Regions from separate parts of the Homo sapiens genome. Here all the other regions are linked to region 3. The links are contacts of gene promoters, found by promoter capture Hi-C in blood cells and fetal thymus (Javierre and others, 2016). All regions are on one chromosome and are shown on one strand. Each heading gives the region's core, a stretch centred on a gene start or on the middle of the fragment in contact. The rest is flanking DNA. Distances are from core to core; before and after follow the strand shown.

Evidence for each region. Contacts are between HindIII fragments. The CHiCAGO score rates a contact against its expected background, and 5 or more counts as called.
Region 1: a fragment that was not itself captured here is called in contact with the fragment with the promoter of GAS1 in region 3 in 1 of 17 cell types (total CD8 T cells); the score reaches 5.0 in total CD8 T cells.
Region 2: a contact is called between a fragment that was not itself captured here and the fragment with the promoter of GAS1 in region 3, in 1 of 17 cell types (endothelial precursors). The highest score is 6.3, in endothelial precursors.

Annotation. Positions count from the first base shown.
Region 1 is chr9:86,348,781-86,352,305 of GRCh38, forward strand. All of the region lies in intron 2 of TUT7 (terminal uridylyl transferase 7), which reads right to left. Among named protein-coding and RNA genes, the nearest start is that of TUT7, 3.9 kb to the right of the region's middle. The HindIII fragment of the contact is 2,336 bases long and covers 961-3,296 here.
Region 2 is chr9:86,411,554-86,414,961 of GRCh38, forward strand. It overlaps LOC102724080 (a long non-coding RNA gene), which reads left to right and starts at 2,288. Exons shown (of 2, transcript XR_007061636.1): 1 at 2,288-3,017. The HindIII fragment of the contact is 679 bases long and covers 1,063-1,741 here.
Region 3 is chr9:86,945,634-86,948,895 of GRCh38, forward strand. GAS1 (growth arrest specific 1) reads right to left here and starts at 1,873. Exons shown (of 1, transcript NM_002048.3): 1 at 1-1,873. The coding sequence starts at 1,146. The coding sequence ends at 109. It overlaps GAS1RR (GAS1 adjacent regulatory RNA), which reads left to right and starts at 3,065. Exons shown (of 7, transcript NR_049794.1): 1 at 3,065-3,262. RefSeq lists silencers at 864-933, 1,004-1,083. The HindIII fragment of the contact is 4,442 bases long and covers 1-2,741 here.

The DNA.
Region 1 (3,525 bases), core at 879-3,378, 600 kb before region 3:
TCCTGAAATTCAGCCTTCTAACTAACAACATAAAAACTGGAAAGAAATTACTAAAATCCCTTCTTGGAACATACCCATTCACATCTAGAGTGGACTAGCACTGAAAGGCAATATAACCTTCTAAACCTACTTTCACAGGCATGCATGGTAAAAACTGTCAAAATCTCACCGGAGGGACTCTTGGAGGGTAAAGCTAGGTACTGATGAAAAATTCTTGGCCAGGCGTGGCAGCTCATGCCTGTAATCCCAGCATTTTGGGAGGCCGAGGCAGGTGGATCACCTGAGGTCGGGAGTTCGAGACCATCCTGGCCAACATGGTGAAACCCTGTCTCTACTAAAAATACAAAAATTAGCTGGGCGTGGTGGCAGGCACCTGTAATCCCAGCTACTCGGGAGGCTGAGGCAGGAGAATTGCTTGAACTCGGGAGGCAGAGGTTGCAGTGAACCGAGATCATGCCATTGCACTCCAGCCTGGGCGACAAGAGTGAAACTCCATCTCAAAAAAAAAAAAGAAAAAAGAAAAATTCTCATAATTACTTGGAGGAAGACTACCTGGCTTACCTCAGATTTATTGTAATAAGAGTTCTCTATATTCGGCATTCCAAGTTTCCCATATTTTATTTGCATATGGTTCACAAAGGACATGTGTATTTGAGTGGATGCTTTCCAGCTAAGATCATTAATGGCAATGTCCCAAATACATTAAACTGGCAATCTAGGACATTTGAAGGCTAAAGTAGGGGCAGTAATGTAGAGCTGAAAAAAACAGAAGGTAGTACCGTATGTGGGGGGGAAAAAAGCAACTCCACCATAATTTCCATTATATCTTCTCACATTGTTGAATAATACCCTTCCTTATTAAGACACAATTTTGATAAAGAAATTTCGATCTCTTTAATGAGATCCTTTTTAGTTTATACTTTCAGTTGAATCTCTCTAAACTAAATAATGTTATACCGAAGCTTAATGCTTCCTATATGAAGATTTTCAAGGGATAGAAACTGAATAATTCTTTACTTAATAACTGTGAAAGCATATACCTGTATGTCATACAGCAAAAACATGCAAACTTTTGAATTACCTCCAATAAAAAAATAGCAAAATGCATTTCCTATTCAAATACACTTAAAAGCAACTTCTTTAGTTGCTTTTATAAGAATACACATAAAATAAGAAAACATATAAAAGTTTTTGTGGTCAGCCAACAGTTCCTTTTAATGTCTAGTTGCAAATTTTTGATCTATAAACTTTCTTTTTAAAATGCTTTTCAGCCGGGTGCAGTGGCTCACACCTGTAATCCCAACACTTTGGGACGTCAAGGCAGGCAGATCATGAGGTCAGGGTATCGAGACTACCCCTGGCCAACATGCTAAAACCCCAACTCTACTAAAAATACAAAAATTAGCTAGGTGTGGTGGCACGTGCCTGTAGTCCCAGCCACTCAGGAGGCTGAGGCAAGAGAATTGCTTGAACCTGGGAGATGGAGGTTGCAGTGAACCAAGATCGCACCACTGCACTCCAGCCTGGGCTACAGAGCGAGACTCCATCTCAAAAAAGAGAATAATAATAATAAAATGAAATGGTTTTCAAGATCAACTTCTACAAGACTATAGGTAACAAAATTAAATACCCACATCCCACCTGGACAGTAATACAGAAACACTTAAATATACACAATTTTTAATAAAGAAAAACACAAATCAAAAGCCCAGAAATTATCAAGAAATATTCGGCTCCGCCGTCAGGATTTCAGGTCCAGCGAGGCTGAGTTAATGGCCAGAGTAGCAGAGTCCCCAATTTTAGTTCTACTTCCTCATTTACCGCGCTGCATAAACAGGTCTGTGGAAATTTAACCTCTCTGAGCTGCAGCTGCCTGATTTGTAAAACTGTGATTCCATTTTTGATATATTACAACAGAGTACTGCATCAGATAATTCCTCAAGCTATTTCTAGCTTAAAGATTTAAGTTTTATGTCTCCCTACTACTTAACGCCTTTATAACACTTCATTCTGTTTCTGCTACTTGATATTAATATATACTCTTAATTTTCAAATTTAAAAATATCTGAGGGCCAGGCGCGGTAGTTCACGCCTGTAATCCCAGCACTTTGGGAAGCAGAGGCAGGTCGATCACTTGAGGTCAGGAGTTCAAGACCAGCCTGGCCAACAGGGAGAAACCCTATCTCTATTAAAAAACAGAAAAATTAGCTGGGCATGGTGGTGTGCACCTGTAGTCCCAGCTACTTGGGAGGCTGAGACATGAGAACCGCTTGATCCTGGGAGGCAGAGGCCACAGTGAGAGGAGGTCACATCACTGCACCTCCAGCCTGGGTGACACAGTGAGACTGTCTCAAAAAAAAAAAAAAAAAATCAGGCTGAATGTGGTGGCTCACGCCTGTAATCCCAGCACTTTGGGAGGCCAAGGTGGGTGGATCACTGGAGGTTAGGAGTTTGAGACCAGTCAGGCCAACATGGTGAAACCCTGTCTCTATTAAAAATACAAAAATTAGCCTGATGTGGTGGCATGTGCCTGTAGTCCCAGCTACTTTGGGGGATGAGACAGGAGAATCGCTTGAACCCAGGAGGCAGAGGTTGCAGTGAGCCAAGATCGCGCCACTGTACTCCAGCCTGGGTGACAGAGCGAGACTCCGTCTCAAAAAATAAAATAAAATATAAATAAACAGATCTGACAACTAGAAGTATCTGTGAAAAAAGAAAAAAAATCAAGTAGCACATTTCCCCCCATTTAATATTAATAAGTGCTTGAGACTTTCATTTTTATCCTAAGACCTTGTAAAGATAAAAGACGACCTTTTGGCTTTTAAGTATTCTATACGCATGGGACACAAATTCAAACACCTTATAGGTAACCAGTGTATGAACTGGCCACTGTGAGATAACATGAAGAGAAAAGGCATCGGGTGATCTAGAAAGTGTCCATATTCCCTGAATGCATTTAAACTAAAAAAATTTATTTAAAAGTGCTGGCCAGTTTGAAACACATTCTATACAACCACTAAAAAACGCTTTCAGCCACTAAACTTACAAGTCCATGTTTCCAACTGTGATATTGTTTCATTTTTTCCATCCAATTTGTGACTTTATTTCATTTCGGTATATATCTCCCATTAGATAAAAATAACCTTCCTGTTTGCAGAAATCGTTGCCACATGGATAAAATCTACTTTTTACTTTTAGAAAAACATATTATCTCCTTATTATCCCTTTGGGGCAATTAACCAAGCATGTGAGGGCACCGAGAAATTAGTTTTGGTCTTACTGAAACCAAACAGCAAAGCTTGAATCTATTTCTGACTTTCTAAACTTGTTTCTCAACCTGTTTGTCACGATCCCTTTTGAAAAACAAAGATCTCAGATTATCCATCTCGGGACACTGACACTACATCCAAAAGATATATCTCTTGTGGCAGGAGATATACGCAGTGTATACTGTGTTTTTACATCAACAAATAAGTTTTTTTTTTAAAAAAAGCTTTATATTCTGTCATTTATATTATGAACACA
Region 2 (3,408 bases), core at 152-2,651, 530 kb before region 3:
AACAGAAGCAATGTTTATTTGAGTGGAAATATGATTTCAAATCATATTTCAAAGACTTCAAATAACTGATAGTGCTCATCTCCCCAGAGGGAATCATGAGTCAAAGGTCAGGGAGTAGCCTGTGAATGAAAATGTGCTGTGCCCACAAGAAAAGATGTCAGTCACAAAGCGAAACTAACACCGCAAATATAAGGGGGTCTTCAAAAAGTCCATGAAAAATATGTATTGTGAAAAAACTGTGCATGGATTTAAAATTCTTTTTTTACAGCAAATAAACTTGTACTAATTTATTATAATATATCTGAACAGGGTCTAGTTTGAGGCACTAAGGAGGATAATGCATCCGTTTGAAAAGAGTCCTTATAAGAGAAACATGGATTCTGCTAAAATTCAAGCAAGAACAGACATCACATTTGTGGTGAAGCTTGGGTGGAAGAATGGTAACATCACTGATGCTTTACAAAAAGTTTATGGAGAAAATTCTTCAAGTGATAATTTTACAAATGAATAACTTGTTTTAGGAAAGGACAGGGCCGTGTGAGGTGGCTCACGCTTATAATCCCAGCACTTTGAGAGGCCAAGGATGATTGCTTGAGGCCAAGAGTTTGAGACCAGCTTAGGCAACAAAGTGAGACCCTTTCTCTACAAAAAATAGAACATTTACCTGGGTGCGGTGGTGCATGCCTACAGTCTGAGCTACTTGGGAGGCTGAGGCAGGAGGATTGCTTAAGCCCAGGAGTTTGAGCCTGCAGAGAGTTACAATGGTGCTACTGCACTCCGACATGGGTGACAGAGTGAGACCCTGTCTCTTAAAAGGAAAAGGAAAAGAAAGGACAACATTGTTGAAGATGAAGCCTGCAGCAGCAGACTATCCACATCAATTTGCAAGGAAAAAATTTTCTTGTTCATACCCTAATCAACAATACAAACAATAGCCATCATCATAGACAAAGGAACATCATTATTAGGACTGAAAATTAACAGCACAAACAATAGCCAACATTCTCGACATTTCAACTGGTTCAGTTTACACAATTCTGACTAAAAAATTAAAGTTGAACAAGCTTCCCGCTCAATGGGTACCAAAACAGTTGTGCCTGGGTCAGCTGTGGACAAAAGCCGAGCTTTCCGTGGAAATTTTAAATACATAGGATCAAGATCCTGAAGCATTTCTTCAGACTAGTAACGGGAGATGAAACATGGCTTTACCAGTATGGTCCTGAAGACAAGGCACAATCAAAGCAATGGCTACCAAGAGGTGAACGTGGTGCAGTCAAAGCAAAAGACGATGGGTCAAGAGCTGAGGTTATGGCAACAGTTTTTTGGGATGCTCAAGGCATTTTGCTTGTTGATGTTCTGGACAATAACATCTGACTATTATGAGAGCATTTTGAGAAAGCTAGCAAAAGTTTTAGCAGAAAAACTCCTGGAAGAGCTTCACCAGAGAGTCTTTCTCTACCATGACAATGCTGCTGCTCATTCCTCTCAGCAAACAAGGTCAATCTTGCAAGAGTTTTGATGAGACATCATTAGGTGCCTATCCTCCAGTCCTGATTTGGCTCCATCTGACTTCTTTCTGTTTTCTATTCTTAAAAAAATCTTTAAAGATCACCCATTTTTCCTCAGTTAATAACATAGAAAAGACAACATGAACATGGTTAAATTCCCAGGACCCTCAGTTCTTTAGGGATGGACAAAATGGTTGGTATCATCACTTAGAAAAGTATCTTGAACTTGATGAAGCTTATGTTGGGAAATAAAGTTTATATTATTTATTTATTTATTTATTTATTTATTTATTTATTTATTTAAGACAGAGTCTGGCTCTGTCGGCCAGGCTGGAATGCAGTGGCACGATCTTGGCTCACTGCAATCTCCACCTCCTGGGCACAAATGATTCTTGTGCCTCAGCCTCCCGAGAAGCTGGGATTACAGGCACACACCACCACACCTGGCTAATTTTTGTATTTTTAGTAGAGATGGGGTTTCACCATGTTGGCCAGGCTGGTATTTTTATCTTTTAATTCTTTTTTTTTTTTTTTTTTGAGACGGAGTCTTGCTCTGTCGTTTAGGCTGGACTGCAGTGGCATGATCTTGGCTCACTGCAACATCTGCCTCCCAGGTTCAAGTGATTCTCCTACATCAGCATCCTGAGTAGCTGGGATTACAGGTGTGCACCATCATGCCTGGCTAATTTTTGTATTTTTAGTAGAGACCGGGTCTCACCTTGTTGGCCAGGCTGGTCTTGAACTCCTGACCTTAGGTAATCCTCCTGCCTTGGCCTCCCAAAGTGCTAGGATTACAGGCGTGAGTCACCGTGCCTGGCCCCCATGACCTTTTCGAAGTCCCCTAGTATGCCTTTACACCCATTTCTAGAATGATTCCCAACATTCCTTCATTTATTCCTTTATTTATTGAATAAATAATTATTAAATGCTTGTCATGTATGTTCCAGGCTTTGCTCTAGTAATTTCGGATATATCAATGAACAAAGCAGGAAAGAAAAAAAAAAAAGGCAAAATCTCTGCCTTCCGGGAGCTCACATTCCCACAGGAGTCACAGGAAACAGCCAATGACCAGTAAGCATCACAAAGAAGTCATGCCAAAGAACCAGACAAATAGCTGGAAGGAAGAGGGGAACTCCTTTGTGACGCCAAATGGGCCAAAGGGTCGCTGGGAAAACTAAGCCTTACTGTCCATCTTGCCTTCAGGATAATGTGAAATATGGCCTAATTTTTGAAGTTTTTTTCTTAGAAATTTTACTGAATCCAAAATAAAACAAGAAGATCATGGTGGATATAGCTTCCAAATTTATTCTGCAATAAAACAGGTTTGAATCTAGATATACAAGCAAATAGCAAATAATATACATTCTTTTTTGCAGAGTCCAGAATTCTCTTTTCTCAACACTAGATGGCAGTAGAGTTAAAGAAAAAAATCCCAGCAGTTCTTTGTACAGGGATTTGGTGATTTTTCCCATAAAGCTGCGATGAGGATGAACTCAGAGCAAAATCTATGTAAGTAGAAAGTTAAATTACAATAGAGGTGTGAAATGATGCTTTAACATGTCACACGCTCATTTTGGCAAAATGTGTTTGGGGCAGAACTCTCTCTCTCCCTCTCTCTGTCTTTCTCTGCCTGTGTGTCTTTACAGGGTAAGCCTAGACAGAATTAGAGAACCATTAACTCTGACTCCTAATACATGATGTTAACTTTAGGTTGGTGAAAAGTCAACTTAACTTTTTTTTTTTTGGGGACGGAGTTTCGCTCTTGTTGCCCAAGCTGGAGTGCAATGGCGCGATCTCAGCTCACTGCAACCTCTGCCTCCCGGGTTCAAGCGATTCTCCTGCCTCAGCCTCTAGAATAGCTGGGATCACAGGCGTGCACCACCAAACCTGGCTAATTTTT
Region 3 (3,262 bases), core at 623-3,122:
AACCATCCCTTCTATCTGTCCCAAGCCACAGGTGCCCGGCGCGGGGTCGAGGCGAGCACGGGAGTGGGACGCGGGCTCTCCCGCAGCCAACGGCGGGGGGCGCGAGGGCTAAAAGAGCGGCCCAAGCAGCAGCAGCAAGATGGAGGCGAGTGGGGTCCAGGCGCCCCGGGGCGCCAAGCGGCCGCCGCCGCCGCTGCTCCTGCGCCCAGGCCCATAGGGCAGGTCCCCGCGGCCGCCCGATGCAGCAGCGCCGCTGCCCGGGCGCGGTGGGTGCGGGACGCCGTCGTCGTCGTCCAGCGGCTGCTCACCACCCGCGCCCCCGGTGCGCTGCTCGTCATCGTAGTCCTCATCGTAGTAGTCGTCCAGGCCCCCGTCCGAGCCGCTGCTGCCGGGGCCGTTGCCCAGCTCGGCGCCGAAGCACAGGCGGGCCATGTTCTCCTTGACCGACTCGCAGATGGGCCGCTCGAGGCCGTCGCACACGCAGTCGTTGAGCAGCGCCGCCTTGGGCATAGCCAGCATGTCCTCAATGACGGTGCGGCATTCGTCCGTGCAGCGCAGCCCGTTGAAGACTTTGCCGCAGTAGGTCAGGTAGCGGCTCAGCGCCAGGTTGCAGCGGCTGTCGCGGTCGCAGCGCCGCCGGGCCTCGGTGCAGCCCATGACCCCGCCCGCGCCGGGGCCGCCCGCGCCGCCGCCGCTCGTCCGGGGCAGGCACGGCTCAATGGCGCGCTTGGTGGACTTGCAGTTCTCGTCCTGCGCGCAGTCACAGTCCTCCAGGGCGGGCCCGCGGCGCGTGTGGTTGAGCTGAATGAGGGCCGAGATGCAGTGACTCGGGCAGCGCCAGCGCGACGAGAAAGAGGCGGCCGAGGCCGGGAAAGCGGCGGCGGCGGCCCCGGGCGCGTCGCCCCCGCCGTGCTGCGCCAGCACCGGCGCGCACGCCTCGGCGTACTGGTTGTAGGCGTAGCTGCACTCCGGCTCCCCCTGGCACTGCAGCAGCGCCTGCCAGCAGATGAGGCGGCGGCCGTGCGCCAGCCCCGATCCCCGCGGCGCCGAGCCCAGCAGCTGCAGCAGCGCCATCAGGCACAGCCAGGCGCCCGGCACTGTCCCCCCGCGGGCCTCGCCGCCGCCGCCCAGCAGCGCGGCCACCATCGCGGGCAGCGGCGGCCGCCGGGAGAGGAGGGGAAAGGAGACGAGGCGCGGGGAGCGGCGGACGCGGAGCCGGTGGAAAAGTTTGTCCAAGTCCTGCCCACTTCTTGCATGAGTGTCTTCATAAATCCATGCGCGCCGCTGGCTGATGCCCCGCTGGTGGCAGAAGGTCCCCTTTCGCTCTGGCTGCGGTGGCTTCCTGGAAATGAACAGCTGTCGAGATCTGGTCCCGCTCTCCCACCCGAGAGCCCTCCGCTCGGCCCCCGGTGGTGGCGGGAGAGGCTCACTGTCGCCCCGGGGGGGTGCGGGCCGCGGGGCCGTGGCGGGGCTGCAGGACCGCGCGGCGCGGCGGGTGCATTTTGCTCCGCGCCTGCAGATCCGTTGTGCGGCCGGCTGTCCCCGTGCCGGCTGCTCGCGCTGCGGCCGCGGCGGCTCCTTCCTCCTGGGCTCAGTGCCTCGCCGCCGCCACCGCCGCCGCGGTCTCTCGCATCGCGCCGCTTCCTGGCCCGGCGTCCGCGCGCTGCCCGCCTTCCCGCGGCCCGGCCGCCCCGCGTCCCCTCCCCCTCCGCCCGCGGCAACCCCGGCCTCCGCAGAGCTCCGGGGAGCTCTTTCCGGGAAGCGCGGGGAGAACAAGAAAGTCGGCGCTGCCGGAGAGCGGCTCCCTGGCTTCACTCGGCGGCAGCTTCTCGGGTGACCAAGAGCCCGGGGAGCGGATCCGCTGAGCCCGGCTGCAGACTCGTTAGCAGCGAGGCTTTAAATACAAAAGTGGGCCGGGAGCCCCCGCGTGGTGCCGCGGTGCCCCCTCATTATGCATGCATGGAAAAGCAAACAAACAAAAACATTAGCAACGCTCCTCCGGCTCGCCGAGCCCCGGCCCCGCGCGCTCCGAGCCTGCCCGCTTTCTCCTTTCTCCACTCTCTTTCGCCCTTTGCTCGGCCCCCTTTCCCGGCTTTTCGAGATGCTATTGGTCCTGCCTGTTGTTGTTGAAAGTTTTTTTTTTTTTTTTTACGAGCCGCTGGAGTGGGGTTGCGGAGTGGGGGAGGGCGGGAGGGTGGTGGGCAGCTCACATTCAGGCATTCAGGGCTTGAAAGGAACGGCTTAGGGAGCCTGACGGAGGCCCGGAGCTCCTCCTACTCTTAAGGAGGCTCGGATATGCAGCCCCAGCTCGCGCACAGAACCAGCGGGCAGGGCTTAGGGGCAGCTGTTTGCATCCGGCTCAGCCACGGGCCTTTTTTGTTTGTTTTTTTTTTCTTTTTTTTTTTTTTTGTAGTTTTATTAATTCTCGCTGGCCCCCATCTGTGCTTTCGACTGGATTCAGAACTCAGTTTATCTTCCAGGCTCCCTGTCTTTGGGTCTTGATCACCACAGAGGGGAAGGGGAGAATCCAGAGATAAAATGTGAGACTGAAACTGTTTTAAAGAAGCATACAAGAAAGAAGCACACACTTTATTAGGGAGATGTTGATGAGATGCTTACAACCCGCCCGCCACCCCCCAGCCCCAGCTAGGCCATCTGGCAGGTACCGCCCGTGCGCCAGGCATCGTTTTCAAATTGCAAGACCGAAATCCAATCAACCGAAATAATTTCTTAGGAAGATAAGCTTGCAACACGTGCAATAATGAAAAAATTTAACTAGCATTAAAAATATTCAGGAATGTCGAGCAATTACCACCTGGCCGCAGTCACAGGACAGAAGACGGAATAAATGGGCACGCACCAAAGGTTTATATTAAAGTGTAAGTTTCAGCCCCTCAGTATATTTAAGGGAGGCTGCTCTGCAGAGGAAACCTCTGCCTTCTCGGCGAGGGAGTTTCCGAGCTACCTTAACTGGGGCGCAACGCAGCCTTCCGCCACCAGAGGCAGCGGGCGTCTGCGGCCTGTCAAAAACTGGCGCTTTTTTCCTCCCCTTTCCGTGGAGAGACTATCAACTCCATCTGTCACAAAAATTAAGGCTAAATCTCCTCTCCAGAAGCAGAGGGAGCCGGGGCTCCGACGCGCTCAGCGTCGGGCTGTCTGCCTCTCCCTAGAGGCCAAGTGAATTTGAAATGGCAAAAGTCACAGCCGGAGGCCCAGCACTAGGAGATTCCTCCGGCTGCGGGAAATCTTCCTGTACCTGCTG